Linked DNA regions of Homo sapiens: all the other regions are linked to region 1. Evidence: promoter capture Hi-C in 16 types of primary human blood cells and fetal thymus (Javierre and others, 2016). All regions are on one chromosome and are shown on one strand. The core of a region is centred on a gene start or on the middle of the fragment in contact, and the rest is flanking DNA. Distances in the headings are between cores, read along the strand shown.

Evidence for each region. Contacts are between HindIII fragments. The CHiCAGO score rates a contact against its expected background, and 5 or more counts as called.
Region 2: a fragment that was not itself captured here is called in contact with the fragment with the promoter of OR1G1 in region 1 in 3 of 17 cell types (M0 macrophages, M1 macrophages and endothelial precursors); the score reaches 7.6 in M0 macrophages.
Region 3: a fragment that was not itself captured here is called in contact with the fragment with the promoter of OR1G1 in region 1 in 9 of 17 cell types (M2 macrophages, M1 macrophages, M0 macrophages and 6 more); the score reaches 16.5 in M2 macrophages.
Region 4: a contact is called between a fragment that was not itself captured here and the fragment with the promoter of OR1G1 in region 1, in 2 of 17 cell types (M1 macrophages and M2 macrophages). The highest score is 6.6, in M1 macrophages.
Region 5: a contact is called between a fragment that was not itself captured here and the fragment with the promoter of OR1G1 in region 1, in 5 of 17 cell types (M0 macrophages, endothelial precursors, M1 macrophages and 2 more). The highest score is 7.2, in M0 macrophages.
Region 6: a contact is called between a fragment that was not itself captured here and the fragment with the promoter of OR1G1 in region 1, in 8 of 17 cell types (M1 macrophages, M0 macrophages, endothelial precursors and 5 more). The highest score is 16.7, in M1 macrophages.
Region 7: a fragment that was not itself captured here is called in contact with the fragment with the promoter of OR1G1 in region 1 in 5 of 17 cell types (M1 macrophages, endothelial precursors, M0 macrophages and 2 more); the score reaches 12.1 in M1 macrophages.

What each region holds. Positions count from the first base shown.
Region 1 is chr17:3,126,172-3,128,919 of GRCh38, forward strand. It overlaps OR1G1 (olfactory receptor family 1 subfamily G member 1), which reads right to left and starts at 1,380. Exons shown (of 1, transcript NM_003555.1): 1 at 439-1,380. The coding sequence starts at 1,380. The coding sequence ends at 439. The HindIII fragment of the contact is 3,090 bases long and covers 1-2,415 here.
Region 2 is chr17:3,625,575-3,628,359 of GRCh38, forward strand. The region is part of intron 2 of SHPK (sedoheptulokinase); the gene reads right to left. Among named protein-coding and RNA genes, the nearest start is that of SHPK, 9.3 kb to the right of the region's middle. The HindIII fragment of the contact is 1,681 bases long and covers 605-2,285 here.
Region 3 is chr17:3,537,556-3,540,375 of GRCh38, forward strand. The region is part of intron 6 of TRPV3 (transient receptor potential cation channel subfamily V member 3); the gene reads right to left. Among named protein-coding and RNA genes, the nearest start is that of TRPV3, 19 kb to the right of the region's middle. The HindIII fragment of the contact is 3,774 bases long and covers 1-2,820 here.
Region 4 is chr17:3,562,214-3,564,913 of GRCh38, forward strand. No RefSeq gene overlaps it. Among named protein-coding and RNA genes, the nearest start is that of TRPV3, 5.8 kb to the left of the region's middle. RefSeq lists enhancers at 662-861, 1,082-1,131, 1,427-2,225. The HindIII fragment of the contact is 2,141 bases long and covers 273-2,413 here.
Region 5 is chr17:3,582,558-3,585,257 of GRCh38, forward strand. It overlaps TRPV1 (transient receptor potential cation channel subfamily V member 1), which reads right to left. Exons shown (of 17, transcript NM_080704.4): 10 at 781-873. Among named protein-coding and RNA genes, the nearest start is that of TRPV1, 26 kb to the right of the region's middle. The HindIII fragment of the contact is 1,527 bases long and covers 565-2,091 here.
Region 6 is chr17:3,518,886-3,521,605 of GRCh38, forward strand. It overlaps TRPV3 (transient receptor potential cation channel subfamily V member 3), which reads right to left. Exons shown (of 18, transcript NM_145068.4): 14 at 2,088-2,154. Among named protein-coding and RNA genes, the nearest start is that of TRPV3, 38 kb to the right of the region's middle. The HindIII fragment of the contact is 2,484 bases long and covers 22-2,505 here.
Region 7 is chr17:3,498,697-3,501,396 of GRCh38, forward strand. ASPA (aspartoacylase) reads left to right here. Exons shown (of 6, transcript NM_000049.4): 6 at 195-2,700. The coding sequence ends at 392. It also overlaps a transcript of SPATA22 not described here. Among named protein-coding and RNA genes, the nearest start is that of ASPA, 24 kb to the left of the region's middle. The HindIII fragment of the contact is 547 bases long and covers 1,160-1,706 here.

The DNA of each region.
Region 1 (2,748 bases), core at 130-2,629:
ATCCGAGTGATCAGGATCACAGTGATGCTGGGGGAAGGTCGTCCTTCCCTGAATTTTATTCTTGGCCCTATACAACAGCCCAGCCAGATATTCCCTTATTTCAGTCATGAGCTGTCCCATGTTGTTTAAAAAGCATTAACTAATAACATTATTAAATCATCAATATTATTAACTATAGTAAATATAATAAGGCATGACATTATATTATACATCTGGATGGCTGTGGTTTTAGAACATAATTGTAAGAACTTCACCTGTGACATTGGCCTGATGATGGGTTATGATGCAGTCCTGTAGCTTAGACATGAATATTTCAGGTTCAGATCGTAGGTACTGGAACAGAGGTCTCTAGATTCTCTCCATCTTTCATTCTTCACTGCTTACTGTGGTGAACGCAGGTGCATGGAGACCCCCATATTGGATGTCAAGTCACTACCACTAAGGGGAATGAATTTTCCGAACCCAGATTAACTTTCTCAGGGAAGACTTTATTTCTTGGTTCCTCAAACTGTAGATAAAGGGATTCAACATTGGAGTTACCACTGTGTACATCACTGATGCAACTGTGTCCTTCTGGGCCGAGTGGGTTGAGGGAGAACTGAAATCAACACAAAAAGAAGTCCCAAAGAAGAGAGAGACCACGGAGAGATGAGAGCTGCAGGTGGAAAAGGCTTTCCGCTTCCCCTGAGCTGATGGGATCTTCAGGATGGTCGAGAAAACGTTCGTGTAAGAGATAATCAGGCAAAGCACACAAATGAGTCCTGTGAGACCCCCAGTGATGAAGATCACCAGCTCATTGGTGAAGGGGTCTGTGCAGGACAGACTCAGGAGGGGATTGATGTCACAGAAGAAGTGTGGGATCTCATGGTTTGCGCAGAAGGACAGGCTGTTCATCAGAAGTGTGTGTAGAAGGGAGTGGAGGGCATTCATGATCCAGGATGCAGACACGAGGAAGATGCAGAGCCCAGGGCTCATGATCAGAATGTAATGAAGTGGGTGGCATATGGCCACGTAGCAGTCATAGGCCATGACCGCCAAGAGGAATGCCTCCAGCATCACAAATAACATGAAAAAATACAACTGTAGTAGACACCCTGAGTAGGAGATGGCCTGACTCTGGATCTGTATGTTTGCCAGCATCTTAGGGACTGTGGTGGACACAAAGCAGGCATCTGCAAGGGAGAGGTTGGCTAGAAAGAAGTACATGGGGGTATGGAGTTGAGTGTCAGTAATGATGACTAGAATGATGAGGAGGTTGCCTGCCACCGTGACCAAGTACATGAACAGGAAGGACCCAAAGAGGGGCTTCTGCTCCTCCAGCTGCTCAGAGAACCCCAGGAGGAAACATTCTGAGATGCTGGTCAGATTTTTCCCCTCCATTTGTCTGTAGGAAGAAAGTTGGGTTAATTGGGTGACGTTGGTAAGCCCTGGATTGTGAACTCTGAAAATTATGCAATATTCCAGTGTTGATCTTCTAGTGTGAGGTTGGATCATAGGAAATCTCCACTATTTGACTCTTTGGGACCTGCAAAAATGGCCATTTCATAGGGTTCGACTAAATATTTGCAAATTCCTGTGCTTGGTGCTATGAGAAACCACAGATTTGTTTGTAATGCAATGAGAGGCTTTTAAATTTATTCCATAAGCATTAAGCCAATATGTGTATTTTGGGGCTGGGCTGGAGGGGCTTGCTGGCTTTGCTCTGGTAGTGTTCATGTAGAAACTATGACATTTATACAACCCAAGATTTTACAGGTCAAATGAGCCCATTGTACCAATAATTAAAAAGACAGCTCCTGGAAAGGGGTTTTGGAATTGGGAAAAGCATGGCTAACATGGAAATCATTATCACTGTTATCTACACAGCGGGTCTGGCCAGAAACCTGAGCGTCATTATTGACCCACGTTTCTCCCTCCCTGCCTACATCCAACCACCACCAAAGCCTGGCAATTTTACCTTCTCAATATGGCTACAATTTACTGACGTCTCTCTGTTTACTGGTCACCATCAGTCCCAGCTGCAGCTCATGTCATTCAGGGCACTGTGATTTCTCACTTGGATTTGGGCAGTTGATCTCCATGCCCCCAGGTATGCCCACCTGCCACCTGCTGTTCTAAATACACAGAGAATAGGCTTGCTAAAAATCAAATTCGACTCTTGTCTTTCTGCTTGAAAAATCCTTCATACACTCCTCATTACTCCCAGGATAAACTCTAAACTGAACACGGCTGAATGTCCTGGATCTTACCGTCATTTATTACAGACATCCCCAGTTCCTCATGAAACTCCCTCCTCCACTCCACACTTTATGCACTAATCATAGTTTCAATTATTTTAAAGGCCCAGATACTCCCTCACCTTTAGGCTTTCTCAGGCTGAAATAGTTTTTCCCATCCCATTTATCAGACGAGCTAAGCTTCAGGTCTCACCTTAGATGTCACCTCTTCTGGGAAGTCTTTCCCAACTCATCCTCTCACCAGAAACTCAGGTTCGTGACCTTCCTAATGCAGTGCCTCCCCCATCACAGCACGTGTCACCTTGGATTCTGAGTGTCTGTTTATATGAGTGTCCCTCATTCTGCTGTGAGCATCACTGGGAGTAGGCAGAGATGGTGCCTAATTGGCTCAGCTTTGAAATCTAGCATTAGCCTTGAGGCTGGTACAACACAGATGCTCAGTATGAATCTATCATGTAAATACATAAACCCCAGAGAATGGAAAGAGTGGGAAGAATGGAAAGGGGCTTTG
Region 2 (2,785 bases), core at 195-2,694, 500 kb after region 1:
CCCCCTGGACCAGTCTGTCCACCAGTTGAACACTAACAAGCAACCTCCACCACCACCATGCAGAAGCAGCAGTGGGCTGAGCCCTGCCCAACCCCTGACCCAAAAAATCATGACAGATGATAAATGCTTGTTGCTTTCAGTCACTAGGTTGGAGGTAGTTTGTTGTGCCGCAATAGGTCATCAAAATACTACTCCTGGTCAGGCACGGTGGCTCACGCCTATAATCCCAGCACTTCGGGAGGCCAAGGTGGGCGGATCACCTGAGGTGAGGAGTTCGAGACCAGCCTGGACAACATGGCGAAACCCCATCTCTACAAAAAATACAAAAATTAGCCAGGTGTGGTAGCGGGTGCCTGTAATCCCAGCTACTCCGGAGGCTGAGGCAGGAGAATCGCTTGAACCCAGTAGGCGGAGGTTGCAGTGAGCTGAGATCGCACCACTGCACTCCAGCCTGGGCAACAGAGTGAGGCTCCATCTCAGAAAAACAAAACAAACAAAAAAATGCTACTCCATTGTCTTTTCACACAGAATGCTGCTGTTGAAAAAAATCTAATGTCAATCTGATCCTTATTCTTTCATATGGGATCTGATCTTTTGCTCTGTAAGCTTTTGGAATTCTGTCTTTGAAATCCTTAAAAGTTCACTAGAATATATCTAGCTGGGGGTTGTCTTTATCTCCTCTTTGACATTCTATGGGCCCTTTCAGGCTGGGGTGTTCTATCTTATGTTGTCAATTATAGGAAATTTTTCTCCATTATTTCTTCAAAGATTTCCTCCTCTCCATTTTTATTTTTCCCTTTCTGGTCTCTTATGATTTAGATGCTAGTGCTTCTGTTTGTATCCTCAATACCTCTTAGCTCATCGGGCGCAGTGGCTCACACCTGTAATCCCAGCACTTTGGGAGTATGAGGCGGGTGGATCACTTGAGGTCAGGAGTTCAAGGCCAGCCTGGCCAACATGGTGAAACCCCTTCTCTGCTAAAAATACCGAAAAAAAAATTAGCCGGGCGTGATGGCGGGTACCTGTAGTCCCAGCTACTCTGGAGGCTGAGGCAGGAGAATGGCGTGAACCTGGGAGGCAGAGCTTGCAGTGAGCAGAGATTGCGCCACTGCACTCCAGCTTGGGCAACACAGCAAGACTCCATCTCAAAAAAAAAAAAAAAAAAAATAGCCAGGCATGGTGGCGGGTGCCTGTAGTAACAGTTACTTGGGAGGGGAAATTTAGGCAGGAGAATCACTTGAATCTGGGAGGCAGAGGTTGCAGTGAGCCCAGATCGCTCCATTGTACTCCAGCCTGGGTGACAAGAGCAAGACTCCATCTCAAAAAAAATAAAAAATAAAAAAAATACCAGTTTTCCACTCCCTTTGCCAACTCTCGACATTACGGAACATTTTGATTTCTTACCATCCAATGGGTGGAAAATGATGCTTTGTTGTTTTCATCCGCACAGCTCTAATGACTAACAATGCTGAACATCTTTCCAGATGTTTATCAGCCATTGGTATTTCCTCTTCCAGGAGTAACCTATTGGTATCCTTCACCCGTTTTTCCACAGAGCTGCTTGTTCTCTCTTAGTTACTGGTTCTTTACACGTGCTGACCTGTCCTTTGTCCACTATTCACTACCAGATATTTTCTCCCTGTCTGCTGCTCGCCTTTTAGCTTTCTTTGATGATCCTGGTTGCTCTTCTGCGTTTACTGAGCCTGAAAATGGAGTTTGGAAACAGGCGTAACCACAGGCCTTTCAGAAGACACTAATCACTCCGTCTCCTCCCCTCCAGCTCGCTCCGGGTGCCCTCACTGAAGCACTTAGCTCTCTGCTCAAGTTACTCCTGCCCATCTGTGTTGACTGTGTTTTGGAAGGTAGAGGCTGCATTCCTTCATTTCTATCTCTCCCCCAGGGCCTAGCAAAGCGTTTTATAGGTTGTAGGTAGGAAAACCAAAGTGAATTAAGGCTGCCATTAAAATCGACAAGACTGGATCCCAAATGTGATTTCACTTGACTTCACTAAGCAGGTATCACCATCACCACACTGTGGCTTTCCTCCTTCCCAGAAACAGAAAACAATCCCAGAAGGCATGTGGGCTGGCTCAATAAAATATTAAGCAGCTCTTTCCAACGATGTGGCTGATGGTTTGTGTGGTTGTTAGAGAGCCCAGGAGACAGGCAGAAAGGAAGGCATGTGACCGGATCACAATCATCAGCTCTCTGCTGTCCTCTTTGGGAAGGGTTTTAGTATTAAAAGGACATTTATTCTCATTAATGCAAAATTAAGGAGTTTTAAAAGCTTTTACAACCTAGACTCCCTCTGAGAGGTTAGCCTTGACACCCTAATCGCCTTCTGCTCCCGCCACTGCTCGGTGCCAAGCAGCTCCCACGGCCCCGGCGGGTCTGATGATAGCCGGACAGGAGGGAGGAAGGGGAGGAGGAAGAGCCTGCATCAGCTCCTACGATTGCCCAGCCCCATCCTGGGAGTGATTAAACGGTGCATCACCAAATGCCAGTCCCACTGACAGGCAGGTCACCGTGCACTTCAGGGCACTCTAAATTGCCGACTCTCCATGTAGAGAGGGATGAATCCAATATTGAAATCCTCATAACTACAGCCCCCCAAAGTAGCCGTCCATCTTCTGCTTAAAATGTTGATCTGTAGTAAAATGTTGATTTTGTTGAAGCTGAGTGATGGGTATATGCTGTTCACAGTACTGTTCTCCCTATTTTTGTTTGTCTAAATTAAATCTTTCATAATTTCTTTTTTTTTTTTTTGAGACGAAGTCTTGTTCTG
Region 3 (2,820 bases), core at 55-2,554, 410 kb after region 1:
AAAGTTAAAGACAAGTGATAGGCTGGGGAAAATATTTGAGATATATAAAAAGGCAATGTGTTTTAGGGCCGGGCGCGGTAGCTCACACCTGTAATCCCAGCACTTTGGGAAGCCGAGGCGGGTGGATCACTTGAGGTCAGGAGTTCGAGACCAGCCTGGCCCACATGGAGAAACCCCATCTCTACTGAAAATACAAAAAAATTAGCCAAGTGTGGTGGCGGGCACCTGTAGTCCCAGCTACTCAGGAGGTTGAAGCAGGAGAATCACTTGAACTCAGGAGGCAGAGATCGCGCCACTGTACTCCAGCCTGGGCTAGAGAGCAAGACTCTGTCTTTTTAAAAAAAAAAAAAAAAAAAAGGCATGCCAGGCACGGTGGCTCACACCTGTAATCCCAGCACTTTGGGAGGCTGAGGCGGGCAGATCACGAGGTCAGGAGATCGAGACCATCCTGGCTAACCTGGTGAAACTCTGTCTCTACTAAAAATACAAAAAATTAGGCGGGCGTGATGGTGAGTGCCTGTAGTCCCAGCTACTCGGGAGGCTGAGGCAGGAGAATGGTGTGAACCCGGGAGGTGGAGCTTGCAGTGAGCATGCCACTGCACTCCAGCCTGGGCAATAGAGCAAGACCCCGTCTCAAAAAAAAAATAGAAAGGCATTGTGTTTTTAAAAGTCTATAATATATTACAAGCGCCTATGAATCAATAGAAAGACAAACAGTCTAAAAGAAAACTGAGAAAAGATTATAAACAAGCACCTCACAGAGGAGAAAATACACACAGTGAATAAACAAAGTGAAAGATGTTTGGAATCACTGGTGGTCAGGAAAATGAAAATTAGAACCTAAAGAGTTAACCCTTTTCACCCACCAGACTGGAAAAGAACAAAAAAAAAAAAAAAAGGATAATTTGCAGTGTTAGTGATAAGTAGGAGAATGAGTATTTCTGTACACCGTTGTGGGGAGAGAGTAAATGAGTATCTTTTAGAGACAAATTTGGCAATAACTATTATAACTTTATTTTATTTATTTAAAAAAAAATTTTTTTTTTTGAGATGGAGTCTCCCTCTGTTGCCCAGGCTGGAGTGCAGTGGCGCGATCTCGGCTCACTGCAACCTCCGCCTCCCAGGTTCAAGTGATCCTCCTGCCCCAGCCTCCCAAGTAGCTGGGATTACAAGCGTGCCCCACCACGCCCTACTAGTTTTTGTATTTTTAGTAGAGATGGGTTTTCACCATGTTGGCTAGGCTGGTCTGGAACTCCTGACCTCAAGTGATCCACCTGCCTTGGCCTCCCAAAGTGCTGGGATTACAGGCATGAGCCACTGCGCCTGGCCACTATTATAACTTTAAATATGCATGCGGTTGAACCCAGATATTCCAATTCAAAATATTTTCTGAAACATATGTGCACCTGTGCACAGGGTCATAGACAAGATCGTGCACTGTGACATTGTCACAACACAGCTGGAAACACCTGACTGTCTGTCAGTGGGGGAGTGGTGAAATTAGCCAAGGTGCAGCCGCAATTGCAGACGAATCTGGTGAAAAGAAGCTAGACTTTCATATTTTGGCATAAGAAGTGCTCCAAGACATATGGTTAATAGTTAATCAAAAAAACCAACTTGTAGAATACAGACAGTATGATAATATTTTATGTTAAATAAATAAAACTTTTTCTGTGTGCACATATACACACACAAATGTCAAAGGCCTAGAAAACTCCACAAAGTATATGGGTAAAGGACTTAAAAAAAAAAAAAGTATGTAAAATGCTGGGCTGCTTTACAATGAAACTCTATTCATGTGACGTGGATGTTGTTAGGCTGGGTGCGGTGGCTCACGCCTATAATCCCATCATTGAGAGGCAGAGGCGGGAGGATTGCTTGAGCCCCGGAGTTACAGACCAGCCTGGGCAACATGGTGAAACCCTATCCCTGCAACAAATAGAAAAATTAGCTGGGCGGGGTGGCACGCATCTATAGTCCCAGCTACTCGGGAGGCTGAGGTGGGAAAATTACCTGAGCCCAGGGAGGTCAAGGCTGCAGCGAGTCGTGGTCGCGCCACTGCACTCCAGCCTGCCCAACAGAGTGAGAACCTGTCTCAAAAACAATAATAAAATAAAATAAAGTAAAATAATAAAAAGAAACTGTTATATTGAATCTGATGATGGATGTGTAGAGGTTTATTATTCTAATATCTTAACTTCATGTTTAAAATTTTTATAATAAAAATGTCTTAATTGAAGAATTGCTTAAAAAAGTAAAACTCTGAAGGCCTCTGATAAAATGCTTTAAAATGATATGAATAAAGTTGTGATTGGTTCCTCTTAGCAGCATAGGGAGGAAATATTCGCCCTTGCCCAGTGGGGAAACTGAGGCTCAGAGAGGTGAGGCAGTTGCCTGTAGTCCCAGCTACTTGGGATGCTGAGGCAGGAGAATCACCTGAACCCGGGAGGCAGAGGTTGTGCCACTGCACTCCAGCCTGGTGACACAGCGGAACTCCATCTCAAAAAATAAATAAATAAATAAATAAATAAATAAATAAACAAAGTCATTGCTCTAAATAAGGTTATTTTAGATACAAAAAAATGCTATGAAAATAAATGAAGATAGGGTGACAGAAAGTGACTGGGGAAGGGAAACTTTAGAGTGGACAATCAGAGTGGTCACCTTGGGTCCTGCCCAGAGTGTGGAAGAATGCTACTCTGCTGGTCCTGGAGCCCCTCTGCTCCGGGTGGAGGAAATGCTAAGAGGAAGGAAGGCACCAGCGGATGGGTCAGAACGGTGGTGGGGTTGGTTTCCAGGAAGACAAGAATAAATAGCTCC
Region 4 (2,700 bases), core at 93-2,592, 440 kb after region 1:
CAGTACTTTGTGGGGCCAAGGCGGGAGGACTGCTTGAGGCCAGGAGTTCAAGACCAGCCTGAGCAACATAGCAAGACCACATCTCTGCACGGGGAAAAAAAAATTGCCAGGCGTGGTGGCTCACGCTTGTAGACCCAGCTACTCAGGAGGCTAAGGCAGGAGGATCGCTCGAGCTCAAGAGTTTGAGGCTGCATTGAGCCATGACCACACCACTGTGCTCCCACCTGGGCAAGAGAGCAAGACCCTGTCTCAAAAAAATAAAATTAAAATAAAGCTTATTAATTTTTTAAAAAAGAAAGACATATGAATTGCAGGTATATCCTTCCTTAAACAATCTCAGGTTTCCAATCTAATAACAAAAAATTTCTATCATTAGTTTTGCAAAAGTACAACCACAGGATCCCTTCCAGCTCTGAGTAAATTTGAAAGCTGATCCAGGCTGGGCACGGTGGCTCACACCTGTAATCCCAGTACTTTGGGAAACCAAGGCAGCTGGATCACTTGAGGTCAGGAGTTCAAGACCAGCCCCGCCAACATGGTGAAACCCCATTTCTACTAAAACTACAAAAATTAGCCAGGCGTGGTGGCAGGCACCTGTCATCCAGCTACTAAAGAGGCTGAGGCAGGGGAATCCCTTGAACCCAGAAGGCAGAGGTTGCAGTGAGCTGAGATCATGCCACTGCACTCCAGCCTGGGTGACAGAGCAAGACTCTGTCTCAAAAAACAAAACAAAACAAAAAGCTGATCCAATTTGCAGAAGTTTGCAGCTGTCTGACACCCACACATTTTCTAAGAAAGGCCTACAGGTAAAGCATGGAGCCCCAGGCCCACAGCAGGAAGCGAGAAGCCCTCCCACCTCCCTCTGGCCCAGGATAGGCTGGCATGCCCCAGCACATTCTCTGCCAGGCAGCCTGACACAGCAGTTAAGAGCCAGGCTTTGGAGTCAGACTGCCTGGGGTCAAACCTAGGCAACGTGTTTACTGGCTGTGCAACCTTACTCACTGTTGGAACCTTGATTTTCTCATCTATAAAAGGGAACTAATAATAGCTTCTTCACGAGCTGTTAGGAGACTTAAAGGGAGATGCACATGGAGCACCTTCATAAACACTCCCCACATCCCGGCTGTCGGCCTCCCTCCTCCAGGCTCCAGGCTCACTTGCCATAGTCACATGCAGGCAACTGGGGCTCCTCCGTGGCGCCTCCTATGTGGAGGCAGACATGATGCTAGAGAACAGGGAGGAGGGATCCCAGTATTTTCTCCCAAAACACCTCTCCTGGTAGGGCCCAAGCCTCAGCCTCAGCCAAAGTTCATCCTTTCATGAACCAACATCCAATAATTCCACAACTGAACAACTCATTCTACACTCCGCAGATACTAACACAACCTGCCCAGTCTGGAACAGATCTCTCTTTCAGAGTATCTGTTTCTTTTTTTTTTTTCACAATGTGTTTATTTTTTATCTTTTTTTTTTTAATTTATTTTTTTATTGATCATTCTTGGGTGTTTCTCACAGAGGGGGATTTGGCAGGGTCATAGGACGATAGTGGAGGGAAGGTCAGCAGATAAACAAGTGAACAAAGGTCTCTGGTTTTCCTAGGCAGAGGACCCTGCGGCCTTCCGCAGTGTTTGTGTCTCTGGGTACTTGAGATTAGGGAGTGGTGATGACTCTTAACGAGCATGCTGCCTTCAAGCATCTGTTTAACAAAGCACATCTTGCACCGCCCTTAATCCATTTAACCCTGAGTGGACACAGCACATGTTTCAGAGAGCACAGGGTTGGGGGTAAGGTCACAGATCAACAGGATCCCAAGGCAGAAGAATTTTTCTTAGTACAGAACAAAATGAAGTCTCCCATGTCTACTTCTTTCTACGCAGACACGGCAACCATCCGATTTCTCAATCTTTTCCCCACCTTTCCCCCTTTTCTATTCCACAAAACCGCCATTGTCATCATGGCCCGTTCTCAATGAGCTGTTGGGCACACCTCCCAGACGGGGTGGTGGCCGGGCAGAGGGGCTCCTCACTTCCCAGTAGGGGCGGCCAGGCAGAGGCGCCCCTCACCTCCCGGACGGGGCGGCTGGCCTGGCGGTGGGTGACCCCCACCTCCTTCCTGGACGGGGTGGCTGCCGGGCGGAGACGCTCCTCACTTCCCAGTAGGGGCAGCTGCCGGGTGGAGGGGCTCCTCACTTCTCAGACGGGGCGGCTGGGCAGAGACGCTCCTCACCTCCCAGACGGGGTCGTGGCCGGGCAGAGGCGCTCCTCACATCCCAGATGGGGCGGCGGGGCAGAGGCGCTCCCCACATCTCAGACGATGGGCGGCCGGGCGGAGACAGTCCTCACTTTCCAGACGGGGCAGCCAGGCAGAGGGGCTCCTCACATCCCAGACGATGGGCGGCCAGGCAGAGGCTGCAAGCTTTGCACTTTGGGAGGCCAAGGCAGGCGGCTGGGAGGTGGAGGTTGTAGTGAGCCGAGATCACGCCACTGCACTCCAGCCTGGGCACCATTGAGCACTGAGTGAACCAGACACCGTCTGCAATCCCGGCACCTCGGGAGGCCGAGGCTGGCGGATCACTCGCGGTTAGGAGCTGGAGACCAGCCCGGCCAACACAGCGAAACCCGTCTCCACCAAAAAAATACGAAAACCAGTCAGGCGTGGCGGCGCGCGCCTGCAATCGCAGGCACTGGGCAGGCTGAGGCA
Region 5 (2,700 bases), core at 78-2,577, 460 kb after region 1:
GTAAAATCTGAAACAGTGAGTCCCACATTCAAAGAAAAGATTACTCCTGCATTAAAAAAAAAAAAAATGGCCAAGGATTGCACATGTTTGAGTTTCAGGTTAAAAATAAAACAATTCCTTGCTGGTGTGGTGGCTCACGCCTGTAATCCCAGCACTTTGGGAGGCTGAGGCAGGTGGATCACCTGAGGTCAGGAGTTCGAGACCAGCCTGGCCAACATGGTGAAACCCCACCTCTACTAAAAATACAAAAAAATTAGCCGGCTGTGGTGGCAGGCGCCTGTAATCCCAGCTACTCAGGAGAATTTTTTGAACCCAAGAGGCGGAGGTTGCAGTGAGCCGAGATCGTGCCACTAGCCTCCAGCCTAGATGACAAAGCGAAACTCCACCTCAAAAAAAAAAAAAAAAGATTCCAGTATGCAAGGAGATTTCCTTCACTGCTCAGAGCTTTAACAGATTGGTTTAATTAAAAAACTACCAGTCATGATCCTATCACTTAAGAGGCCTCCACTCTGCCCCTGTAATCAAATACTCCGTTCCGTGGAGTGGCTGGAGTGTCTACTTTCAAGCTTGCCTGCCTTGGGCCTGTGGAGACGCCCTGAGCACCCTCCCGCCCCGCGGTGACTGACTGAAGGGCTCTCATCTTCACCTCTGCGTCTCTCAGCTCCCCAAGTAGGGCTATGATGTGTCTGATGAATTAAAAAGTGAGTGAGCGCTGAGGGATCTTCTTGGCTTTTTGTTTTGGTGATAATGGAAACTCACAATGTGGGAAGGAACGCTTACCCCTCGGAAAAAGAAGTAGACTCCTCCTAACACAGACAGGATCTCTCCAGTAACTCGGAAATAGTCTCCAGTTTTTTCCATCTTAAAGGGAGGCTGTGAGATGCAGAGAAGTTGGTAACTCCATTTACTCATTCGTTCATTCAACAAACATGGACCAGGTCCATGAAGCCATAGTCCCTGCCCAGGAGGCACAGCCTCCATCAGGGGAAGGACACACAAAGACAGTGTGTTATTAGGGGAGCGCCCGCAAGGAGGCCCCTCTGTGGGCCTGATTCCCCAAAGTGGCAGCCTGCAGGTGCCAAGCGGAGCATCTTACAATGCTGTGCCGCCTCCCAAGCAATGTCCCGGCAGGCCCAGAGCTCCTCCTGGCTGGGAGCAGAGTGATGGACAGCAGGGTGATGGAGAGGTGGAAGCACTCTCATGGACCCCACGCCATACACATCCCGCTGCCACCCCAGCCCATGGCCAGTCTCCCACGAGTGTCAGGGACTCCCACTGACCATGGAGGGAGAGACTGTGCCACACACACTTGTGGGTGTCACCCTTGTATTTCAGTGGCCATTTCCTGGAGTGGGTCACCATCCACATTTCCTAAGCACTAGTTCATCAGCTTGCCTTACCAGCACATTTTTCTCTTAAAAAGAAGTCACTGGCCGGGTGCAGTGGCTCACGCCTGTAATCCCAGCACTTTGGGAGGCCGAGGCGGGCGGATCACCTGAGGTCGAGAGTTCGAGACCAGCCTGACCAACATGGAGAAACCCCATCTCTACTAAAAATACAAAATTAGCCAGGCGTGGTAGCTCATGGCTGTAATCCCAGCTACTTGGGAGACAGAAGAATCACTTGAACCCCGGAGCCAGAGGTTGCGGTGAGCCAAGGTGGCGCCACTGCACTCCAGCCTGGGCAACAGAGCGAGACTCTGTCTCAAAAAACAAAAAACAAAAAACAAAAAAAAAGAGGGAGGCTGAGGCAGGAGAATGGCGTGAACCCAGGAGGCAGAGCTTGCAGTGAGCTGAGATCACACCACTGCACTCCAGCCTGGAAAACAGAGAGAGACTCTGTCTCAAAAAAAAAAAAAATAAAATAAAAAAAAAAGGAAGTCATTATGTGGCCTTAATAGGTGGACAGAAATCGGGTTTCATGCAATTATGAAGTTGAGTTTTTAAAGTAAATGTGCAGCCGGGCACGGTGGCTCACACCTGTAATCCAAGCACTTTGGGAGGCCGAGGCAGGCGATCACTTGAGGTCAGGAGTTCAAGACTAGCCTGGCCAATACGGTGAAATCCCATCTCTACTAAAAATATAAAAATAAGCTTGGCATGTTGGTGGGTGCCTGTAGTCCCAGCTATTCGGGAGGCCGAGGCAGAAGAGTCACTTGAACCCGGGAGGTGGAGGTTGCAGTGAGCAGAGATTGCGCCACTGCACTCCAGCCTGGGTGATAGAGCGAGACTCCATCTCAAAAAAACAAAAATTAAGTAAGTAAGTAAACTTGTAAAGTGCCCTGGAAACAAAAGCAGCAAATTAAGTGTCCTGGGTATCAGACACGAAGGACTAAGTCCAGAAGTTTGATGAAGTCTTGGCTCTTGGCAGAGGAAAAAGGCTGGTCTTAGGCTGATTTGATGGATGGCCCAGGGCCTGGCACAGAGCTGCTCAAAAGTCTAAATCCAGGGAATGAATAATGAGCAAGTGAGTGAATGAAAGAGGGCAGGCAAGCAGGATGATGGTGGGCTCTGGGCTTAGACACCAGCCCACATCCCTGGGGACCCCCAGGCCAGGGGTGAGCCCTGTCCCGAGCCCAAATTCCTGCGTGATTTTTCTTTTTTTTTTTTTGAGACAGAGTTTCACTCTTGTTGACCAGCCTGGAGTGCAGTGGTGCCATCTCAGCTCATCACAACCTCTGCCTCCAAGGTTTAAGCGATT
Region 6 (2,720 bases), core at 14-2,513, 390 kb after region 1:
CTGCCTGGTAATTACTCTACAAGCTTGCGTGTATTTGCCTACATGACAAGCCTGCTGCCTCCTTCTCTCTGGCCATTAAATCCCATCTCCAGTTTCAGGTCCTCTCAAAGCCTCATCAGGCTGGCTTCTCTGGCCTGGCCTCCTGCAGAAAGCCCTTCCACCTAACAAAGCCCAGAGTCTTCTCTCCTTCCTTTACCCCGCAGTCTGCCCTTGATCACTTGCAGCCTTGCAGAGCCACTAATTATAATCCATGTGTGTGTCCCTGGCTCCCCAGCTAGTCTTTGAGCTCCTGACTTCCTCTAGCCTGGGTCACCTCCCTCAAGGCTGTAAGATCCTGAGTCTCCTCCTAATGCTCTGTTTTGAGTTCCCTGTGAGCAAGACCAGGCTCACACTTCCCTTCTTTCCAACACACCACAGTAGAGGTTCACTGCTGAATGGTTGGATGGATGGATGGATGGATGGATGGATGGATATGGAGGGATGGATGGAGGGATGGATGATTAGATGGAGGGATGGATGGATGGATGGATGGATGATTGGATGGATGGATGGATGGATGGATGGATAGATGATTAGATGGATGGATGGATAGATGATTGGATGGATGGATGGATGGATGGGTGATTAGATGGATGGATGGATGGATGGATAGATGGATGGATGGACCAATTGATCGATGGATGGATGGATGATTAAATGGATGAATGGATGGATGACTGGATGGATGGATGGATGGATGGATGGATGATTAGATGGATGATTAGATGGATGGATGGACTGATTGATCGATGGATGGATGGATGATTGGATGGATGGATAGATGGATGGATGGATGGATGGATGGATGGATGGATGGATGGATTGATGGATGAATGATTAGATGGATGGATGGATGGATGGATAGCTGGATGGATGGACCGATTGATCGATGGATGGATGATTAAATGGATGAATGGATGGATGACTGGATGGATGGATGGATGGATGGATGGATGGATGGATGATTGGATGGATGATTAGATGGATGGATGGATGGATGGATGGATGGATAGATGGATAGATCAATGGATGGATCGATGGATGAATGATTGGATGGATGGATGGATGGATGGATGGATGGATGGATGGACGGATAGACAGGTGGATGAGCAAATTAAATGAGAGAGTAAATAGATGGATGAATAAACAAGCAGGTGAAGGAGCAAATAAATAAGCAAATTGTGACCCAGAAAAGGTACCAGACAGATGGAAACAGCTACTTAATTTCAAATGTCAATGGTCACTGAAGAAAAGAAAAAAAAGCAACTGGTACGTGGGGGAAAATGATATCTCTCTATGCAGAGGTTAGAAATACAACCAGATCGTGCTGTTCCCTCTGTTGTAAATGGAGAGATTTTAAGAGGGGGCTCCTTCCTGGTCCCAGCAGACCAGAGAGGCTCTCACAGTTGTATCTAAAGCAAACTGTGAGAGTAACGTGATGTGAAATCCAAAGGAAATCACCTCAGGGTATTAGTTTGCTCCTACTTTGCAAAGACCATCAGTTGAGTTTCTGTGGACTTTAGTTTCCGCATCTGTTAAAATGGGGCTGAAAACACTTGCAGAACCTATCTTAGGTCGTGAGGGCCACGTAAGCAATGAATGGGAAAGCCAGAGGTATATACCACATGGTGAAGTTGGATTATGAGTGGCTGGCCTGGTTTGAATCCTGGAGTCTCTAAGCCTCAGTTACCTTATGATCGGGGTGATGATTCCCACTTGATCAAGTTGTTGAGAGAAGTAAAAAGGTAATGCTTGATTAGGAGATATACCTAATGTAAATGACGAGTTAATGGGTGCAGCATACCAACATGGCACATGTATACATATGTAACAAACCTGCATGTTGTGCACATGTACCCTAGAACTTAAAGTATAATAAAATATATATGTATATATATAAAGGTAATGCTTGGAAAATGCCAAGCATGGCAAGTGCCCCACTGGTAGTTGGTCTAATTGTTGCCAAGGCCGCCATGCACTTTGCCATTTTGACATCTGTATAAAGTGTTTATAAATGTGGGAGTTACTATTATTTATAAATCAATTACCTACTCCAAATCCAAGCAAAAACACGATATATACAAACAAGAACTTCAGAACATCATGCAAAATGACCTATAAGGAAATAAACATAATTCAAGTGTAAGGTGCAAGCACATATTCACGGCACCCTGATCTTCCTGCTTCCCACCCTCTCCCACCCCCCACCCTAACTGTCTCTTCACTTGGGCCACTCTCCCTTCCCCCAGCCAAATCCTCCTGATGCTCCAAGGCTCAACACTGGATCCTGCCTCCTCCAGGAAGCCTTCTGTTTCTGCTCCAGCCCCAGGTTCTCTTCTCCCTGTGATTCACCCTGTACCTTTCACCATAGGGTCTCACACTGGAATCCTCACACTTGCTGGGGGCAGTGGCATGCTGGAGCCAGCTCAGAAGAGCTCGCAAGAGCTGATCGTTAAATTCTCATGAAGCTTGTGAGCTGGTTGTTAAACACAGCCATTATTCAGAACTAAATCAATGAATAAGATGAATAAGTTCTGGGGATCTAATGGACAGCATGATGACTATAGTGAACAATACCGTGTTGTGTACTAGAAATTTGCTAAGAGAATAGATCATAAATGTTCTCACCACACACAAAGAAATGGCAACTATGTGAGGTGATGGGTGTGTTAATTGGAAAT
Region 7 (2,700 bases), core at 183-2,682, 370 kb after region 1:
TCTTAAAACTACTGCCAAAATTCACGACCCAATGTCAGCGCAGTCAGATCACTTGCCTGCATCTCAATGCCTCGCTCAAGTATCTCTTTTAAAACAACAGAATACTGTAATTTGTTAGTTGTCTAGAGTCTGACATAAATTTTTAGAGGAGAAAAACCAAATATAATATATTTATTTTGATTGTTTCCTGAGAGGATCAAGACTGGAAACCACTGCATCCTGGGGATCCCATGTTTTTAACTCTTGATGGGAAGACGATCCCACTGGGCGGAGACTGTACCGTGTACCCCGTGTTTGTGAATGAGGCCGCATATTACGAAAAGAAAGAAGCTTTTGCAAAGACAACTAAACTAACGCTCAATGCAAAAAGTATTCGCTGCTGTTTACATTAGAAATCACTTCCAGCTTACATCTTACACGGTGTCTTACAAATTCTGCTAGTCTGTAAGCTCCTTAAGAGTAGGGTTGTGCCTTATTCAACTGCATACATAGCTCCTAGCACAGTGCCTTATTCGGTAGGCATCTAAGCACATTTCTTAAATTAATTAATATATCTTTAAAGATATCATATTTTATGTATGTAGCTTATTCAAAGAAGTGTTTCCTATTTCTATATAGTTTATTATACATGATACTTGGGTAGCTCAACATTCTTAATAAACAGCCTTTGTATTCAGAATATAAAATTGAAATAGATATATATAAAGTTATTTGTTTTATTGTGCTTTGCCTTACTACACTTCACGGATACTGTACTTGTACTTTTTTTCCAAATTGAAGGTTTTTGGCAACCCTGTGTCTAGAAAGTCTAACAGTGCCATGTTTCCAACAGCATGTGCTCACTCCTTGTCTCTGTGTCACCCTTTGATAATATTTCAAGCTTTTTTATGATTTATTTATTATATCTGCTATGGTGATCTGTGATCAGTGGCCTTTGATGTTACTGTTGTTAAGTGTTTTGGGGCACCATGAATCGTGCCCATGTGAGACTGCGAACTTAGTGAATGTTGTGTGAGTTCTAACTGCTCTACTGACCGGCCATTTCCTTGTCTCTCTCCCTGTCCTCTGGCCTCCCTGTTCCTTGAGACACAATAATTAATAAGTCTACAGCAGACTCTGTGTGTTCAAGTGAAAGAAAGGGTCATACTTCTAGAAATTAAGCTTAGTAAGGAAGGCATGTCAAAAGCTGAGACAGGCTGAAAGCTAGGCCTCTTGCACTGGTTAGCCAAGTTGTGAATTCAAAGAAAAGGATCTTGAAGAAAATTAAAAATTCTACTCCAGTGCACACACACAAATGATAAGAAAGCAAAACAACCTTATTGCTGATATGGAGACAGTTTTAGTGGTCTGGATAGAAGATCAAACCAGCCACACATTAAGCCAAAGCATGACCCACAGCAAGGCCCTAACTCTCTTCAATTCTGTGAAGGCTGAGAGAGGTGAGGAAGCTGCAGGAAGCTGGGAGAGGTTGGTTCACAAGGTTTAAGGAAAGAAGACAGCTCTAAAACCTACAAGTGGAAAGCGAACCAGCAAGTTGCTGATGTGGAAGCTGTAGCAAGTTATCCAGAAGATGTAGCTAAAATCATTGACAAAGATGGCTACACTAAACAACGGATCTTCAGTGTAGTTGAAACAGCCTTCTATTGGAAGAAGATGCTATCTAGGACTTTCCTAGCTAGAGGGGAGAAATGAATGCCTAGCTTCAAAGCTTCAAAGGACAGCCTGACTCTCTTAAGAGCTAACACAGCTGGTGACTTTGGGTTAAAGCCAAAGCTCATTAACTGTTTCAAAAATCCTAAAACTCTTGTTTTTTGTTTTTTTTTTGAGACGGAGTCTTGCTCTGTCGTCCAGGCTGGAGTGCAGTGGCGCAATCTCGGCTCACTGCAAGCTCCGCCTCCCAGGTTCATGCCATTCTCCTGCCTCAGCCTCCCCAGTAGCTGAGATTACAGGTGCCTGCCACCACGCCCGGCTAATTTTTTGCATTTTTTTAGTAGAGATGGGGTTTCACTCTGCTAGCCAGGATGGTCTCGATCTCCTGACCTCATGATCCGCCTGCCTCGGCCTCCCAAAGTGCTGGGATTACAGGCATGAGCCACCACGCCCGGCCCAAAAATCGTAGGACTCTGAAGACTGATGCTAAACCTGCTGTGTCTGAGCTCTATAAATGGAACAACAAAGCCTCGCTGGCAGCACATCTGTTTGCGGCATGGTTTACTGTATATTTTAAGCCCACTGTTGAGACCTACTGCTTGGGAAAAAAAAAAATTCCTTTCAAAATACTACTGCTGATTGACAATACACCATGTTACCCAAGAGCTCTGCTGGAGATGTGCGAAGAGATTAGCATTGTTTTCGCGCCTGCTACCACGACATCCAGCCGAAGCCCATGGATCAAGGCGTCATTGTGACTTTCAAATCTAACTATTTAAGAAATACATTTCAGGCTGGGGGAGGGGAGAAAAAAGAAAAAAAAGAAAGGAAGAAAAAAATCATTTCATAAGGCTATAGCTGCCATAGATAGTGATTCCTCTGATGGAGCTGGGCAAAGTAAACAGAAAACCTCTGGAAAGGATTCAGCATTCCAGATGCCATTAAGAACATTCAGGATCCGTGGGAGGAGATCAAAATATCAACATTAACAGGAGTTTGGAAAAAGTGAATTCCAACCCTCTTGGATGACTCTGAGGAATTCGAGACTTG